Regions from separate parts of the Homo sapiens genome. Here region 2 is linked to region 1. The links are contacts of gene promoters, found by promoter capture Hi-C in human tissues and cell types (Jung and others, 2019). All regions are on one chromosome and are shown on one strand. Each heading gives the region's core, a stretch centred on a gene start or on the middle of the fragment in contact. The rest is flanking DNA. Distances are from core to core; before and after follow the strand shown.

Region 1 (2,700 bases), core at 95-2,594:
CCATTGGTAAAATTTAAATCAGTATTCAACTTAAATGATTGCCAGATAATACAACTGATTTTTAAAGAAATACACTTTAACTCATATGGACATAAATATTTTACAGTATCCAAGTAGTGCTGACATTACTCAAGGAATTGTTTAGGACTACTTGTTCAAAATTGTCTTTCAGACCTAGTTCTTCGGAAATACATTATAATTATTTCTATAAAAGTGGGCATGACTAAGTAGAATCTAGTCTTGCCCACTTTTGGCCCAGCCTGACTCAACTGGTTTTGATCTGGATGACTTAATATTATTTCTGAAAATTAAATCTACTCTGAAAGAACAGACTTATTACTAATTTTGTTAAGTACTTACCGCGATTTCCAATTAAACTTGAGGCAACATGATGTCTTACTCCACTTCCGCCACTGTAGGCTTGAAATAAGATGGCAAGTGTGGTGAATAATAATGGTAATAACTCAAATAAGACTTTGGCCTTTGCTGCCATCCTATGAAGACAGAATCACCACCCCCCAGCCCTCACCCCTCACCCCCGCAATCCGAGTAATTTCAGGAAGCTATTTGTTTCCTTATCCTTGGGTTATTTTCAGTTAAGACAAATGTACAAGCACAAAAAGGAGTCTCTTAGCTTCTGACTCCTAGGACATAAACCAAGACACGCTTTACTATCACATACTCATTTCCCTAAAGGGAAGAAGCCAAAAAATGCATACTATAGTAAAATGGGAAACATTTCAAGGGACAGTAAGGTGTGGGGAAGAGTGGGCAGATGTTGTGGCTGTTACCTGCGTGAAGGTAAATAAAATATTAACAATAACAAGCACTTCTACACCGCTATGTGCAAGGTGCTATTTATCCTTTCAATCACAGCTCTGTGAGGTAGACACTTATGACTCCCATTTTACAGATGACAAAACTGAGGCTCACGAAGGTGGTTAACTAGCCAAGGCCACTCGTCTAGGAAGTGAGAGGCCAAGGTTCAATCCTAGGCAATCTGGCTTAAGTTTGTGTTCTGTTAAAAAAAAAAAAATTAAAGGTTATCTGGCAATTTTTTAAACGTCAGGACTGTCATCTGTGGAATCAATTGAAAAGGGAATCAACACTTCAGAAACTGTAATACACCAAGGGAACCTGCTATCCTGGGAAAGAGAGATAAAGGAGAAGTCAGCTGACTGTCCTCCTTCAGACTAGCTCAGACCACCCCAACCTGCGAGGGCCCTGGAGACCCCTGTGGCGCAACAGATCCCTTACTGGGTCCCTTCCAAGTGGCGTCACATAGCAAGCGTCCAGAAGGAGGCGGGACTTCCGGGCCAAGCGAGCCAATTCCGGCCGCGCCGGAAGTCTCTACTGAGGAAAGCTATGAGGATACTCTGTTCGTAAGCTCCCGGTGAATTTTGTTCCACAGACTCGGAAGAAAGGTTGGATAAGAGTTCACTGGAGATTGACAAGTACTCGGGATAGTGAAAAGCCGGAGTTGGAACATGGATAGCCGCTTGCAGGAGATCCGGGAGCGGCAGAAGTTACGGCGACAGCTCCTCGCGCAGCAGGTCCGCGGCCCTGGTGTCCCCTGTGGGAGGGATCGAGAATGCGAGTGCGCGGCCGCCTCCTCCCTCCACACCCCGCCTTTTTCTGTCCCTTCTCTACCTGCCGCTGTTAAGGCCTTTCTGGTCCTGCGATCTTGATCCCTGGTTCTGCCTTTGTAGTTCTCAATTTTCGCGGTGTCCCGAATGTTTTTCCAGTTCCTTCCGCGGTCTTTGTGGTGCTAAACCGAATGCCAGGATTAGCCTTTAAGCTTTGTGGAACTCCCACCGAGTGTCTGGCATGTTCACGCCAGGATGAGTGTCATGTTATCCCCTACATTTCTCTTCACTATTAAATGGTCATCTATTTCTTTCTTTTCTTCGTCGTCAGCCCCAAATTCTTGAGATTGTGGTTTCATTATGAAATACGTTTACAGTATTTTCTTTGACATCTTTCTGAAGACAACACTGGAAGTAGCCTGAGTGTAAATTTTAGATTCTGCATCTTATATAGAGTATCCTTGTCACATCCACAGTTAATATTTGAAATCTTACTCTGTGTTAGTCACAATAATCTCCTGAAACAGGTATTATTACCTTCACTTATCAAGTAATGAAAAAGGCTCCATACGTTAAGGAATTTTACTCCTGGTCGCTCACTTCTCTGCTGGGAAATAGAACCTAGGTTTGTCTCCCCAAAGCTTGTCTTCTAAACCATTGTCCTTCACTTCTTTCTTGTGTATGAGTAAGTTAACATTTGCTGATTAGTAGAGTGCACATGCAGAAAATACAGATTGTGCACAGTTCTACTTAAAATCGAGGCTGTATTTTCCATTCTACTATTCAGATCAGTAAAAGTGATAGGAGCAATGCTCATAGAGTGTAATTAGTCATCTTGCAGTTATTTTTCAGTAATGAAACTTGGTTTTAGTAAATGGACTTCTGAAACCTATCCTCTTTATGGTCTGATGAACAGATTTGTGGAATATGGCTAAAACCGTGGAAACTTGGAGTCAGATTTGTTCCTTTGTTCCTTATCCCGCTGGCATTACGATCTTGGGCAAATCAAGTATCCTTTCTAAGTCTTCTTTTCGCCAACTTCTTTTATCGTATTATCTTCAAAAATGTTAAGTAGCTCTTTGTTGCTACCACAGAAGACGTTTTACTCCTTAAT
Region 2 (2,700 bases), core at 190-2,689, 260 kb after region 1:
CAATGATTTTAATTTGTAGAGGTGACTGAATGATAACATGGAGAGGCAGAGGCTCATGCCACTAAGCTTTTTATGACTTACATTTCCCGAAAGGAGGAGGCAGCCCCACTATGCAGACCACACGGGGAAACACCAGTGCCATTCAGAAAGCAGAAAAGAACGAGGGGAAGGCAGAGGCCACCGCCTTTACTGTGTTTTCCGTAGGAAAGGCAAGGCGAGTCAGGGGAAACAGTTTAGGGTTAGCCAGTTTTAATAATTCTGGCAGGCTTTGGGACATAGGAGCTATCCCTGGTTGGCTGGGTTTCTAGTCCTGTGTTGATTTAGGGCAGGAAATATTGGCTTAGTGTGTGAGAGATAAAGGAAGTGGTTAGGGAGATGGACTCACTAATGCTTGGTTTACATATGAAAGGAATACTGGACGGCAAGTTATTTATCATATTAGGAATTAACTAGCTCTGGGAAGGACAGTCTCTCCCCAGCCCTCAAGCCTTTCTATTCCATCAAAATATCAAAACATCATAAAATACAGAATATAAAAAACATGATTAATAAATGCACTACTCTACCACCTATTGTGGGAAGGTACGTATCTCACTATATTGTAACACATGTCCCAAACTTGCTATGTTGTTTCTTGAGAGCAGACATCTGTCTATCTTGTTCACCACTGTAACCCCTGTGCCCGGCATGGGGTCTCTGGCACTTGGTATATGCTCAGTAAATATTGACTGAATGAAAGAATGAATGGACAGCTTTCTATCTTGTATACATAGTTCGTGTTTCACCTGGAAAGCACAACATTTTTTTCTAAATTTAGATTTTGCTCTATCAATTAATTAAAACATATTTTCATTTACTTTAAATGTGAGGGTTTTTTTCTTTCCTTTCAAAGTTTAATCTGGCTCAGCAGTATAATGTATTACTTAAAACCCTATAAAGAGAATGACTCATCTCTACATCCCTGTGTCAGCCAATGGTTCTTTACTGGGGATAATGTTGCCACAGGGGACATTTGGCAATGACCGGAGACATTGTGGTTGTCACAACTGGCATCTAGTGGATAGAGGCCAGAGATGCTGCTAAACTTCCTGCAATACACAGGACAGCTCCCCTAACAACAAAAAATTATCTAACCTAAAATGTCAGTTGGTCAGGTGCAGTGGCTCACACCTATAATCCCAGCACTTTGGGAGGCTAAGGTAGGCAGATCACTTGAGGTCAGGAGTTCGAGACCATCCTGGCCAACATAGTGAAACTCCATCTCTACTAAAGATACAAAAATTAGCTGGGCATGGGGGCATGCGCCTGTAATCCCAGCTACTTGGGAGGCTGAGGCAGGAGAATCTCTTGAACCTGGGAGGCAGAGGTTGCAGTGAGCCAAGATCATGCCACTGCACTCCAGCTTGGGTGACAGAGCGAGACTCCATCTCAAAAAAAAAAAAAAGTCAATAGTGTTGAGGTTGAAAAAAAACTTTATTAAAGGATGGTGTGTTGACAAGTTTACCTAAAAAGACCTCACACAACCAACCATGTCCCCAGACTTCTCCATGAAGCAATTACAAGGTAACTTGCTGATATCTTAGAAGTAAAGACAGCAGCCCTAAGGGGAAAAGTAATTTTCAGAGGAGAAAACATTGCAAGCTACAAGAGAGGGGCTCGGTATCAGAGCAAATAATTAGGTAGATTGAGACATGGAATGACAATGCTGAAGTCAGGGTTTAGCATGAGAACCAAAATCATAGGCTTTTTAGCTGACAGTTAAAAGGTATGACTAAATTAACATAAGTGATGTGGGGGAAGGGAACAATTATATAGAATTTATAACTTCAAAGTTGCTCTCTTTAAAATTTGAGTTGTTTTTTCATGCTAACATGCTGCCGTTGATCAAAGAGATGCTGTCATATCTTTTTGGAACTGTCTTCATGTGTCATGCTCTTTTGAATATCATCAGTGGTAGTAAACATTGCCCTCTGAGGCAGGAATTTGGTTTTAGGAAAAAATTAAGTTACTTGAACCCTATATAAGATGAATAAGGAAAGTCATCCATACTCCCAATGCCATTTTCATAAAAATTGAGGACAGGCTATAAATTAAGTAAATCTGACTCTAAAGGCAATTTTAAAATGAGTGTTAGAAATGTCTTATGCCAAATCAACATCACTGTGCTAAGTGTGTACCTCTCAAGGTGACTGTTTCAGGAGGAACACTCATATTGAGGTGTGTGTGTTAGCAAAACGTTACTTGACAGTTATGTTGCTTTCAGTGCTACATACCTACGTGGAAGTAACGCCACATTTGTGTACAACCAAATTTCTGTTAAGATGTTTATTAAAGATATTACTGTGCTTTTTACATGTTAAAGTTTAATTTCTAAGCTGTGATACTACTCTTCAAAATCTGGGAATTCCTAGATTAGGCAAGAATTTTATCCTCAAGTTCTTTTCTTTGATGTCAGCTTTACTTTGGCCACATAGGCTTAATCTAGGATGGCTTTTTAGTGTCAAATCAAGTGCACATTAAGTGTACTTGAGATAGATTAGTGTTATAAAAGGATAATTAATAAAATAATGCTACCAGTCTACTCGCAGTAGACTACCAATTCATTGCAGTTTGCCTGGGACTGTCCTGGTGCTAAAATTGAAACTCATACTTCTTGGGAAACTCTTTAGTCCTGGGGAAATCAAGTTACCCCAACCCCAG

Evidence for each region. The method cuts DNA at HindIII sites, captures the fragments that hold promoters and counts their contacts. A contact is called where the count stands out against the background at its distance.
Region 2: a contact is called between a fragment that was not itself captured here and the fragment with the promoter of METTL14 in region 1, in 2 of the 25 tissues and cell types used here (lymphoblastoid cells and mesenchymal stem cells).

Annotation. Positions count from the first base shown.
Region 1 is chr4:118,684,048-118,686,747 of GRCh38, forward strand. METTL14 (methyltransferase 14, N6-adenosine-methyltransferase non-catalytic subunit) reads left to right here and starts at 1,345. Exons shown (of 11, transcript NM_020961.4): 1 at 1,345-1,553. The coding sequence starts at 1,488. It overlaps METTL14-DT (METTL14 divergent transcript), which reads right to left and starts at 1,294. Exons shown (of 7, transcript NR_125930.1): 1 at 1,258-1,294; 2 at 361-420. RefSeq lists enhancers at 1,304-1,563, 1,744-1,883. The HindIII fragment of the contact is 10,452 bases long and covers 1-2,012 here.
Region 2 is chr4:118,941,677-118,944,376 of GRCh38, forward strand. The region is part of intron 1 of SYNPO2 (synaptopodin 2); the gene reads left to right. Among named protein-coding and RNA genes, the nearest start is that of SYNPO2-AS1, 42 kb to the right of the region's middle. The HindIII fragment of the contact is 4,120 bases long and covers 1-2,700 here.